3 separate regions of the Homo sapiens genome follow, and regions 2 and 3 are each linked to region 1. The links are contacts of gene promoters, found by promoter capture Hi-C in human tissues and cell types (Jung and others, 2019). All regions are on one chromosome and are shown on one strand. Each heading gives the region's core, a stretch centred on a gene start or on the middle of the fragment in contact. The rest is flanking DNA. Distances are from core to core; before and after follow the strand shown. Region 1 holds the start of LY86 (lymphocyte antigen 86). Region 2 holds the start of RREB1 (ras responsive element binding protein 1). Region 3 holds the start of LOC105374898 (a long non-coding RNA gene).

What was found. The method cuts DNA at HindIII sites, captures the fragments that hold promoters and counts their contacts. A contact is called where the count stands out against the background at its distance.
Region 2: a contact is called between the fragment with the promoter of RREB1 here and the fragment with the promoter of LY86 in region 1, in 1 of the 25 tissues and cell types used here (spleen).
Region 3: a contact is called between a fragment that was not itself captured here and the fragment with the promoter of LY86 in region 1, in 2 of the 25 tissues and cell types used here (heart left ventricle and lymphoblastoid cells).

Annotation. Positions count from the first base shown.
Region 1 is chr6:6,586,950-6,590,906 of GRCh38, forward strand. It overlaps LY86 (lymphocyte antigen 86), which reads left to right and starts at 1,771. Exons shown (of 5, transcript NM_004271.4): 1 at 1,771-1,921. The coding sequence starts at 1,786. All of the region lies in intron 1 of LY86-AS1 (LY86 antisense RNA 1), which reads right to left. RefSeq lists enhancers at 68-157, 168-297. The HindIII fragment of the contact is 16,234 bases long and covers 1-3,957 here.
Region 2 is chr6:7,106,588-7,110,643 of GRCh38, forward strand. RREB1 (ras responsive element binding protein 1) reads left to right here and starts at 1,374. Exons shown (of 13, transcript NM_001003699.4): 1 at 1,374-1,473. RefSeq lists an enhancer at 183-242 and silencers at 593-1,072, 1,133-1,352, 2,143-2,632, 2,653-2,742. The HindIII fragment of the contact is 13,967 bases long and covers 1-4,056 here.
Region 3 is chr6:5,988,390-5,992,077 of GRCh38, forward strand. LOC105374898 (a long non-coding RNA gene) reads left to right here and starts at 2,497. Exons shown (of 2, transcript XR_926413.4): 1 at 2,497-3,688. The HindIII fragment of the contact is 8,341 bases long and covers 1-3,688 here.

The DNA of each region.
Region 1 (3,957 bases), core at 521-3,020:
AGCTCTCTGCTAGGTTTTCTGCTCCCTGCCCTGCACTCCTGGACTCCTCCTCCAGTGTCAATCATGACGCACTTTGCAGGGAAGGAAGTTCTCACCCTCAATTGCTCTCCTCACTCACATATGTTCAGAGCTCTCTTTACAACTGCTGGAGCACTCACATATCCCAAGGGAAAGCTTCTGTGTTCCATCCTGGACCTTCTAGGGGCTACCACGCTTCCACCAGGGCCGCTGCTCTCACCATAAGCTTCAGACTCTCATCTCCCGAGATCTTGCTCACAGCGCAGCTGCCTTCCGCTCACACAGGCCAGAGGGGCCACCTTGTCTCTTCTTAGAGCAACTTCCCACCACTCCCTTGGGGCTCAACCTTCGCTTTATGTTCTGTAAAAGCCAGCAGTTCTCAAACTTGAGACTGCATCAGGCACACCTGGAGGGCTTGTGAAAATCCAGAATGGTGAGTCCCGCCCCCCAGAGTTTCTGATTTAATAGGTCTTGAGTAGCCCAGAATTTGCATCTCTAACAAGCCCCCAGTGGAAGCTGAGGCTGTCATCTTCCCAGGCCGCACTTTGAGAACTGCTGTTGAAAGCCATCATCACTGAACTTATTTGCAGAGGTACCTAAAAATAATCAATCCACAACTGTTCCTTCTCCAAATGACCACTCTCTGATGTCTATCAAGAAATCCAAATTATTTACCAATTAATTTATTGGTAATTATGTTCCACCTATTTCAAAAAAAGTTTTGAGCTAACTCTAATTTTTGCTTAGCCATCAGCAGAAATAGTAAATTTACCTAGTGCATTCAGAAAAATGCTGTTCCTCCCAGGGAAAATAGTGTTTTCTATTGCTCCTGAAATCTGCTGACCTTGGCACTGACTCTGGTCCTCTTACATTAAGGTGAAGCTGGGGCGGGGTTGAGGAATCAAGACTGAGAAACCTTGCTGTCCTGCAGCAGAATAGAGATACATGGAAGAAGGAAGACAGAATCTTGGCTTTGAAGAGAAAGTGAGATGTGATGTCAATGATCCCACTAACACCAAAACCAGCAAACCAGCCTCCTTAAGGGTGGCCCCACCTCCCCACCCTTCCTACTTTTTCTACCAAGCCAAACCCAGAAATAGAACACGGCTCACTTCTCAGGGCTATTGCCTCTGCCTCATCTCCAGAGACCACATCTGCAGCTCCCAAAACAAGGTCTGTTCTGCAGCTGGACAATTCACTGCTAAAATCCCAAACCTAAGAGCAGAGCCAAAGCCAGAGGAGAGGAAAGTGACAATAGGGCCAAAGCCTCATTCCAGATTCCAAATGTCATTCTGTAGCCCTCGTGCTATCAACTGCTGCCTGCTGGCTGCAGCCAGGTCCCTGGGTCCATACACAGCCTGCATCAAGAGCCTGCAGAGACTCGGGGGCTGGAGATGGGAAACAGATGGTGGCCTGCGCTTTGTCTTTCCCAAGTTTACAGCCTCACCTGGGGGTGGAGGCTGTTCTGAGGGGCCCCCAAGAGGTAAGTTCACGCATCACTACTGACCCTCTCCCTGTGAAAGCAGAAAGTCAGCACGCATCCTACCCCAGACCAGACCAGCCACACCTGTAGATTCAAGGTCCTGGGGGAACAGTATTCAAATGCCTCTGCTCTCAGCCTTTTACTTCTGACTGTGGTTCCCAGCGAGTCTAAAATTTGAGAAGTGAAACTGAACATCCAACTGCCTTGGTGAGGGGAGAGGAAGAAATTTTACAGGCTTTTTATTGGCCGGTTATTTTTCTGTGTGTCCCATACAGGCCCCCACCATGAAGGGTTTCACAGCCACTCTCTTCCTCTGGACTCTGATTTTTCCCAGCTGCAGTGGAGGCGGCGGTGGGAAAGCCTGGCCCACACACGTGGTCTGTAGCGACAGCGGCTTGGAAGTGCTCTACCAGAGTTGCGGTAAGCCCTTGCAGTACACCCATGTGTGTTTATGGGGAAAGCAAGGCCCACAGATGTGAGCCGCTAGTGCTCAGTTGGAGTTGGGGTGGGAGGGGAGAGGGGACCAGCAGCTGAACACTTTCTCCACCTGCAGCAGGTCTGGGAGGGCCACTGGGAGCTTTTGGAAGAAGGAGCGGTGGGGCCAGGACTGGGAGCGGAAGAGAATGGCAGAACAACAAAGAGTACAAGAAAGAGAAATTGAATCTAAATATAGCCATTTACTAACACCACAGAACCCAAAAAAGAACAAAATGATCAGTGAGTCTACCAAATCATCAAACCTCACCAGCTGAAAATTAGGAAAAGCAGCTTCCAGTAGGCCCTTCCTCAACACCGTACACCTGGGCTACCTTTCCATCTGATGTACTTTGCAAGTGAAGTGAAAAGATCACTTCTGCCCAAAGAGAAGATTCCTGTCCCTCTCTGGACACTTTCAGAGCTTTCACTGCAGCAGTAGCTCTCATGAATTCAGCAAGCACTTCGCATGCAGCTATCAATGCCAGGGTTTCTCAGTGCTAGAGATAATAAAAGTGCATATGCCAGGCCTGTCACCCCAGCGGGCCAACCCAATACGCCAACAGATAATTGCAATTCAGTGAAGAGAATGCAGTGAACTGTGGTAAGAAGTGTCAGAACCAACCAATCGGGCTGTGTCTTAGTCAGCTAGGGCTGCCATAACAAACCACCACAGGCTGGGGACTTAAATAACAGATTTATTTCCTCACAGCTCTGGAAGCTGGGCTGGTTTCTCCTGAGACCTCTCTTCTTTGCTTCTAGGTGGCATCTTCTCCCTGTCTCCTCATGTGCTCTTCCCTCTGTGTACATCTGTGTCCTCATCTCCTCTTCTTATAAGTACACAATCATATCAGATTAGGGCCCACCTCCATGGCCTCACTTTAGCTTAATCAGCTCTTTAAAGACCCTATCTCCAGCAGGGCATGATGGCTCACACCTGTAATCCCAGCACTTTGGGAGGCTGAGGAGGGTGAACCACTTGAGGTCAAGCATTCAAGACCAGCCTGACCAACATGGAAAAACCCTGTTTCTACTAAAAATATAAAATTAGCTGGGCATGGTGGCACGCGCCTGTAATCCCAGCTACTTGGGAGGCTGAGGCAGAATTGCTTGAACCCAGGAGGTGGAGGTTGCAGTGAGCCAAGATCGTGCCATTGTACTCCAGCCTGGGCAAGAGGAGCGAAACTCTGTCTTAAAAAAAAAAAAAAAAAAAAAAAAGACCCTATCTCCACATACAGTCACATTCTAAGATACCGTAGTCCCCCCCCAGTCTGCTAGGAATACGTTCCAAGACTCCCAGTGGATGCCTGAAATCATAGATCGTTTTGAACCCTACATATACTATGGTTTTTGGACCCAATAAATGAGACAGCTACTAAGTGACGGACAGGCCGGTAGTAGAGACAACATGGATATTCTAGACAATTCGTGTTCCTGGTGGGCTGGGCAGCACGAGATTTCATCATGCTACTCAGGAGGATGCTCAATGTCAAACTAATGAATTATTTCTGGAATTTTCTATTTAATATTTTTGGACTGCAGTTGGCTGAGAGTAACCGAAACCTTGGAAAGTGAAATCTTGGATAAGGGGGCTGTACTGTACTGGGGGTTGGGACTTCAATACATAAATTTGAGGGGATGCAATTCATCCCATACAGGGCTCCCAAGTGGGGAGCAACTCAGGAGCCCAGCCTCAGGATCACATCTGCTGTTAGAGGGACTGGCTTGTGCAAACGCATGGCATTGTGATATCTGCCACTTTGGAGGGAGATGGGGGCAAAATGCCGTTTGAACTACAGGAGATGGAAAAGAGAAGTTGATTAAGCATCTGAATTGGCCTCACTCTAAGCTGGGGAGTGATGAGGATGCAGTGCTTGAGCAAGTACCTGATCCTACAACTGCCACCCAAAGAGCTGCCCAGAGAGGTCCAGATGGTCACTCTAGTCACCAGGGCCATTTGTTCAATTTGACCTCACTTTTAA
Region 2 (4,056 bases), core at 124-2,623, 520 kb after region 1:
CCCCTTTCAGAACCTCGGTAGGAGAAGTATTAACAGTTGGAAACATGTCAGCTGCTTTATGGAGGAAGCACAGCCCAGGCCTGGTTTCTCTGGGCTCCGTGATAACTTGGGGCAAGGCAGCCAGTGCGAAGCGTGGTGGCAGGAGCTGGAGAGATGGAGAGCGGCTCGGAGAAGGGCCCCTGCTTTTCAGAGTTGAAACAGGAGCCCTCTGAGAGAAAGAGATACTGCGTGTGGCTTCTCTGAAGCCTTGGAGGGCGACGTGGATGACACAGCATCAGCCATTCCATCGCGGGGTGGGGACACAGTGGCGGCAGGAACCGTCCTCAGCCCCTGGCGGCCACGGCAGTTCCCCGCTGAAGCATCCTTTGTGGGGTGTGGGTAAGGGAGGGGGACCAAAGTCGGGTCGGAGTTGAGTTTGTTAGACGGCGAGCACACTCAGGGCGGCAGCCCGAGTAAGAAGGATGGCCCCGGGAGAGAAACGGCTCGAAGCTAGGGGCGGGGTGAAGCGCCTGCTCCTTAATCTCCTGCCCCATCATCCACTCGCCCCACCTGGATGCAGAGCGAGGACCGCGTGGAAAGGAAACGGCGCGGGCGGGGCTCCCCCTCGCAGATGCCTCGGAGACCCAGAGGGGCGGCGTCAGGCCAGGGCCCCGAGCCCTACGCCCCCCATCCCCCCAACTCCAGCGCCTCTGAGGTGCCCCTCTCGCAATTCCGAGGCATCACCGTGTCTCCCCCGCCTCCGTTAAAATAGTGAAACTGCGGAGTGAAGTGATGGAAAGCCGGGGGCGGGGAGTCGCCCGCGGCGAGGGGCTGCAGGGGAGGGGGCGCGGTGGCCGAATAAGGTGGCCCGCGAGCAACGGGACGATTGGGATCGCAGCCAGTCGCGGCCTCCCGGACCCTTCCCCTCGGGCAGCCCGGCCCTCCCATGGCCCGGGGCGCCTTGGGAGGGCGTAGGGCAAACCTGGGGCTGCGGTGGGGGGTGGGGAGGGGACTCCACCTCCATCCATCCCGGGATGGCAACTGCGGTCACCCTGCTAAAGTCGGGGCGGGGGCGGCGGTCCTCCCCCTCACCCCCCCCAGTCCGAGCGCCGCCGCCGCCGCCGCCGCCGCCGCCGCGGCCGCTCAGTAACACGTCCCCAGGAGACTCGCAGGAGCAACACGTGATGTGTCTACTTATCAGGGTGAGAGGGGGAGAGCGAGACTCCGAGCGTGCGGGCGAGGAAGCTGGGCGGGGGGCCGAGACGGGGGCCGGGACGACGGCTGGGGCGCCGGGGTCGCCAGCTCCTCGCCCACCTCCCTCCCTGTGGGAGAAGAGGAGGAGGGGAAGTGACTGCGGAGTTGATGAACTTTGCACATCCAGAAACGCCATTTTGATTCCTTTTCCGGAACAAGTTTGCATCTCTCCTCGGTCTCTCCCTGAAGCCCACCGGTCCCCAACGCATCATGCCAGGGAGCCAAGCGTCCTGCCCGGCCGTAAGTACGTGCCCCGGATTCCGACTCGCGGTACGCCGGCGGCAGCGAGAAGTCTGGGGCACAGCCGGAGCGACCTTTTAAAGAACTTTGGGGATGGGGAGGGTGAAGTCTGCAGAGCGCGTTGTACTTTTGAAACTCGGTGTGTCCCGGAGCCGGGGACCCGCACGCCCCACTCCGCGCAGCGTGCGCTCGGGCCGGCGGGGCGGCCAGGGATGAGCGGGGCAGCCCTCTCCCCTCGGGCTGCGCGCCGGGCCATTCCTCCTCCTCCTCCTCCTCCTCCCCTTCCTCCGCTCTTTTCCCTTTCCCGAGCCGCCGGCTCTGCCAACCAGCTCCCAGCGCGAGCCGCCGCAGCGCCCCGCCAGCAGGACCTGATGCGCATCCATATTAGCCGTCCGAGCGCAGGAATCCGGCCCGACCCGCGCCGCCGAGTTTATTTTTAACCAGCACCGCCGGGACTCGGATGGTGCGCGCACCGCCGGCCAGAAACATCTTCCCAGCGCTGCTCTCCATCTTCCGCCCTCTCTCCCTCGACATCCTCCCCCCCATGTGGGAGGGGAAACTTTTCTCCTACATACTTTCGAGTCCTTCTCGGGCCGGGAAGCGCGGAGATGACGGCGCCCGCCCTCCCGCCGCCGCCCTAAGGTATCCGGGGGTGCCTGCCCGGGGTGCTCGCGCGGGGGTGCCTGCTCGGGGCTGCTCGGTGGGAGCATCCGCCGCGCCCTGCTCTGCGGACTTTGAACCTCCCGGGCGGACGGCGCCGGCCGGGAGGGGGCCGCGGGCAGCCCCGCGCCCTCGCGGGTTCCCGGCTGGCGGTCGTGGTCACGCCGACCACCGCCCCGGGGGGCCTGGGGAGGAGGGGACCGGGCCCTAGCCGTGCGGGCACGTATTGTTCCCTCGCCCTTCCGTTGGCGGGGTGAGTGTTTTCGTGGGAGCCCTCGGTGTGGAGCTAGCCTGCCTCGCGGGCGGGGGGGGTGGGGGGCTCGGCGCCGTCACGAGCACAGGAAGGAGGCCGGGAGCATCCGAGGCGGGGCCGGCCGCCGGGGCCCGCTCCGCCGCCCAGCTGTGGAGCGCGCTCGGAAACTTTTGTCCGCCGCCCGCTGGACCAGTTTTTCACGAGTTCTGGGGCTTCCCTTCCTCCTCCCATCCCGGCCCCCGGCGTCTAGCTGGGTGGGGGGAGGGGGCCTGTTGCTGCCCCCCCCGCCCCCAACTTCCCGCACAAGCCTTGGGCCGGGCCCCCCGCGCCCCCTCCCCGCTCGCGGTCTCTTAGGAAACTGCGACCTTAATGGTTGCTAAGGAGCAGGGGAGGTCCTTCCCGTCGCCGACCCCCTCCCTGGGAAGCGGCGTGTTTTCTGGACCGGGCCAAGGGCGCGTCGAGGATGTGACCTGCTCCGCGGCCGCGCGTGAGTGCGGGGCGCGTCGGCCGAGCCCACCGATGGGCGAGGCCACCTTTCTCTCCGGGCGGGGCGGGGAGCTGGGGGACGCGGGGACCCCACGGGGTGCGGGCCCGGGCCGCTTGACAGGCGCCGCGTGCAGCTCGCGCCCCTCGGCCGCCGTGCATCCGTGATGGGTTATAAAAGAGGAGGAAAGTATTTCTCCTTGCTCAGCAGATTTGCCCTCCCTCGCTCCTTACTGGTTAGGAGATAGAACGTGAGCCCAGATCCGGACGAGCAGTTCACATTCCATTACGAAATTCTACACGGCTTCAGAGCCAGCAGCAGCACACATTCGGGGCACTTTGGAGGGGTTTTCTTCGTTTGAGGATGCTCCTGCTGCTGCTGCTTGTGATGGTGGTGGATGTGGAGAGAGACAAAAGGGTGAATAAAAAAATATAACGTTTTGGTATGTTGAAAAACCTGTCCGGGGGTTTTCATTAGTAGAAAATTGAACCCTCTTAGAGTTTAGATTTAAGCTTAGCTCTTTAAAAGCCAGTGGAAATAAAGTTTGCCTGTTGAATGGTGTTGCTGGAAATAGCGAGGAATTTCTGTCTTAAGAAGAAATGATTTCTGCAAAGGCAGAGTTGCTAGTGCATCTCCATTATTTTTGATATTTTTTTTCCCCTTTATATATGTAGTGGACCCTGCATGTGTGCGAGTTGATTCTGAAATAAGTTTAATTGAAGTGGAAGGTGGGGAAAAGAGAACTGCCAAGAAAAGAATGTGGTTTAGTTTTGTTTTTTCACACCCATGAAAATCATCCTCTAGATTTGGTGCTTTTTCAAGTAGGCAGGTATAGTTTCTAAGACATATTTCAACCCGGAAGTCTGAGTTAGATAGAGGCCAAAGTGTTGGCTAAAACCTCTTTGAAAAACAAACGTTGAGTTTTGTGCTATCTTCAAGAGTCCACAGAACTTCTGAAGGAATGGGTTCGAGCTACTCTACAAGTAATTTATACAAAGACAGAATCACTAATTTTAGGGGTGGTGTGTGTGTGTGTGTGTATGTGTTTACCTCCGCCCTTTGGAGGGAGCCTTCTGGGTACCCGCTGATGGGTCCTGCTTTGATGTGCTTTGAGCTTTGGTTACACTGATGAATTAAACATTTGAATGGCTTTAATCAAGTTTTAAATGTGTTAAAAAAATACCTT
Region 3 (3,688 bases), core at 69-2,568, 600 kb before region 1:
ATAACAAGCTAATGAAATGTTGAGCTAGTTGTTCTGAAAGGCATAAACAGGATGTATTCAGTTGCTTCTTTTCTCTTTCCCTTTTGTTTTAGCCACCATTTTTTCATTCTCTCTTATCTGCATTGCCATGGATGTGTCTGTTCCTTTGTTTCTAACCATTGGTAGGTACTCCATGACATGCAGCCAACAATTTTATGCCTCTACTCACCAGGAATACACACGCATGCTGCCTAGGAGGAGTTTCTGAGGGAGAAAAGGCATTAGCAAGAAGTAGCCCAGAGAAGTGTTGGCATTAGCAACACCTTTATTTATTTTAAAGTTAGAACATGCAACTACATATGTGTGAGGTGGTAAGGACTGGAAATGTTCTTTACTCAATAATCATCTGTGCCAGGCACAGTGCCAGATACTGTGGGAGGTTCAAAGATGGGTGAGACATAGTCCCTGACCTCAAGGAACGTATGGTTTAAAGACAAAACGGATCAGCAGTTCTCTAATTGGGATACAAAATTAAGAACAACAAGAGGTTATTGAGGGCCATCCCAATAATTCTGACCAGGGGATCAGGGAAGTGTTCATGCAAGGTTGAGCCTGAGAAGGATCTTGAAGGAATAGGACATGCAAGGGTGGATGGGAGGCGCTGGGGTGGAAGTGCAATACATTTTAGCCTGGAAGAACTAAATAAGCAAAGGCATCGAATAGAGGAGGGGTTGCATAGGTTGAAGGAGCAAGAAGGAAGTCAGTACGGCTGTAGCACGTGCGTGGGAAACATAGAGGGCTGTGGTTGGGGAGAAGGCTGGCAAGATGAGATGGGACCAGATCCTGGTGAATCTTCGGTGTCACGCAGGGAGTCAGAGTCACTCAGCAATGATTCAGCAATGGGAAGGAAATGAAGGTTCTTAAAGGAGGGAAACGACATTTTCACACCCATGTGGAAATGGGAGAATTAATACCAGAGACACTGAGACCAAAATGTGTGTCTCTGGTTGAAGAAATTATGACTATTTTACATTTTTCCCCTTTGAGTCACCTGCAGTTTCTAATTTTCCCATAGTGAATGTGGACATGTGGTGAAAATTTAAAAATAGAATACATAAAATAGTGTTTAAAGGGTAAGATACACATGGGGGAAAAGGAGGAGGCCAATGAGAGTGGAGTGTCTGCCATTGGTAAGGAGGAACCTGGCTCTGGAGGCCACAGGCTGGAGGCCAGCCAGGAGGAAGCTGGCAAAAAGGGGAAGGAGAGGATTTCATTCATATAGTCTCCCAATATCTGCTGAGTGTTTGCCTTGGGCTGGGCACTGTTCTAGGAACTTACAATCATGTATTTGTGAAATGGCTGAGAAATGGAGAAACAGCTGCGTGCAGTAAAAGGATGGACAGGGAAGGCCTTTTTTTTTTTTTTAGGCTATAAGAGATTTGAGTGTGTTTGTAAGCTCAGGGGAAGGAGCATGTGGAGAATGAAACACAAAATGTCAAAACCAATGGAAAAGATAAAAGATGAGGTCCAAGAGCCAATCAGAAGGAATAAGGTCAGGTTTGCAAATGCAGTGTGTATGTGTGTGTGTGTATGTATCTGTGTCCCAGAAAATATCTAAATTAGAGAATATATGAACATCTGTATAAATGTGTACACATGAGCACATTTTGGATTTGAATTTATAGTGACTCCTGAAGATAAAGATTTGGGCAGAATTGGAGGCATTTTTCTCTGCCATCTACAAAAGTGTCCAAGGGCTATTCAGAAATAGGAAACAATATACCACAACCCCAATAAACAAAGCAAGTGAGGAAATGCAGTTTTCCCCATGTTATGTTCCAAAGAGCAGAAAATATTACAAGAGGATGGGAGAAGAATGGTTACACAGGAAAACACGCTGCACAAAGGGTGCAGTGCAACAGGTGGAAGGTGTGCGTGATACCAACATGACTGCCAGGCCGGCTGAGAGTATACAAGCCTCTGGGAGACCTGGCTGCCACATGGCTGGACCATCATGTCTCTGGACAGGGATTGATGGATGTGCCTCCCATGTGCTTTGATGTTCCTTATCCCCTTCAAAGTTGCCTGTTTTGAAGAATTTGTGTTTGGCCAGAGTTAAATGACCCACTTTGCTTGGGATTTCTCTCCCTGCCTCAGTGAGAGCGCAATCCAACTTGTTTCAGGTGACACCCTGAGGAGACAAGCAGAGGACTTTGAGGACTATGAAAGCCATTTTTTATAGTCACTTGCTGAAGCTCAGCTGACCCTCCCAGGAAATGGAAAGATTGAGGCAGGCCCAGGCACTGCAGTCTGTGGCAACCGGGTCAGGAAGGCGCGCTGAAGTTAATTATCCAGCCTGGCATCCCCACAAGCTTGCTTGTTTGGTGTTGCTTCTTTCTTAATCAAGAAGAGACTCCCATGGTGGTGTCTTAATGTAAACAAAGCAATTTGTGACTTGATTAACAAATCAAGGATGGACAAACATGTCCTTTTCTCCCTTCTCCTCTTTACTAGGGACTTGGACTATTTTAAGGAGTGTCTCTCGATGTGAAAGGCAGTGGCTGCCTGAGGTTTGTCTGGTTTGGTGTCTTCCTGTGTTTCTCCCTTCTTACCACATCCACAGCAAGGGATTCATTCTAGGCATTCCATAGAGACTGAACCCATTCCTTCTGTGTCCTGGGAAATGTAAAAGTTGGAAATGCAACCCCCATTAAAAGCAATTCAACATGTGATTTGTCCAGGTGATGAGGTATGTAGCTAATATTAGTCGCCGTGATTTATCGAGAGAATAACTACCTGGTGATAGATTTTTCATGAATGTATCTCAAGTCATCTATCACTGTGACAATGAACTTTTCATATCTGGGCAGGCCTGTGATGGTTACAGAAACCAATAACTCCTTTAATAGAACTGCATGTCCATTAAATTACTGGAGGGAAAGAAAGAAAACAGGAAGGTCTTACAGCTAAAAAGGGCACAACATAGGGGAAAAAATAACAAAAAAAGATTCTATGACGAGACATTGTGAAAAATCAACACAAGGTTTTTGTTTTGTTTTGTTTTGTTTTTTGTCCTTAGAAATTAATTCTACAATGTCTTCTTTTTCTCACAAACACCATCACCCCACGTTGAAATGAAGCTGCTGTCTCCTCTGAATGCACACATGGACAAAGAAGGGCCCTGAGAAATCCCTAGTACACATACATCCTGAACCCTCAGGCCTCACTGGTGTGATGTGTTCCCTTAACTAAACTGGTACAGTGCAAATAATGACTTGTACTAGTTTTCTATTTGCAGTTTTAACAAATTTCCACAAATTTGATGGCTTAAATAATAGGATTTTATTATCTTGCCATTAGTTCTGAAGGTCAGAAGTCTGACATTGGTTACTGGGCTAAAATCACTGGGGCGCATTTCTTTCTGAAGACACTAGGGAGGAATCAGTTTTCTTTTTTTTTTTTTTTCTAGTTTCTAGAGGCTGCCCAAATTCCTTGGTTTCTGGCCTCTTCCTCTATCTTCAAAGCCAGCAAGGGTGGGTTGAATCTTCCCATCACATGACTCTGACCTCTTCTTTTTTCCTCTTCCACTTTTAAAGACCTTTGTTATTACATTGGCCTCTAGGGATAATCCAGGATAAACTCCCTATTTTAAAGGCAGCCGATTTAGCAGTCTAATTCCACCTGCAACCTTAATTCTCTTTTTACCACA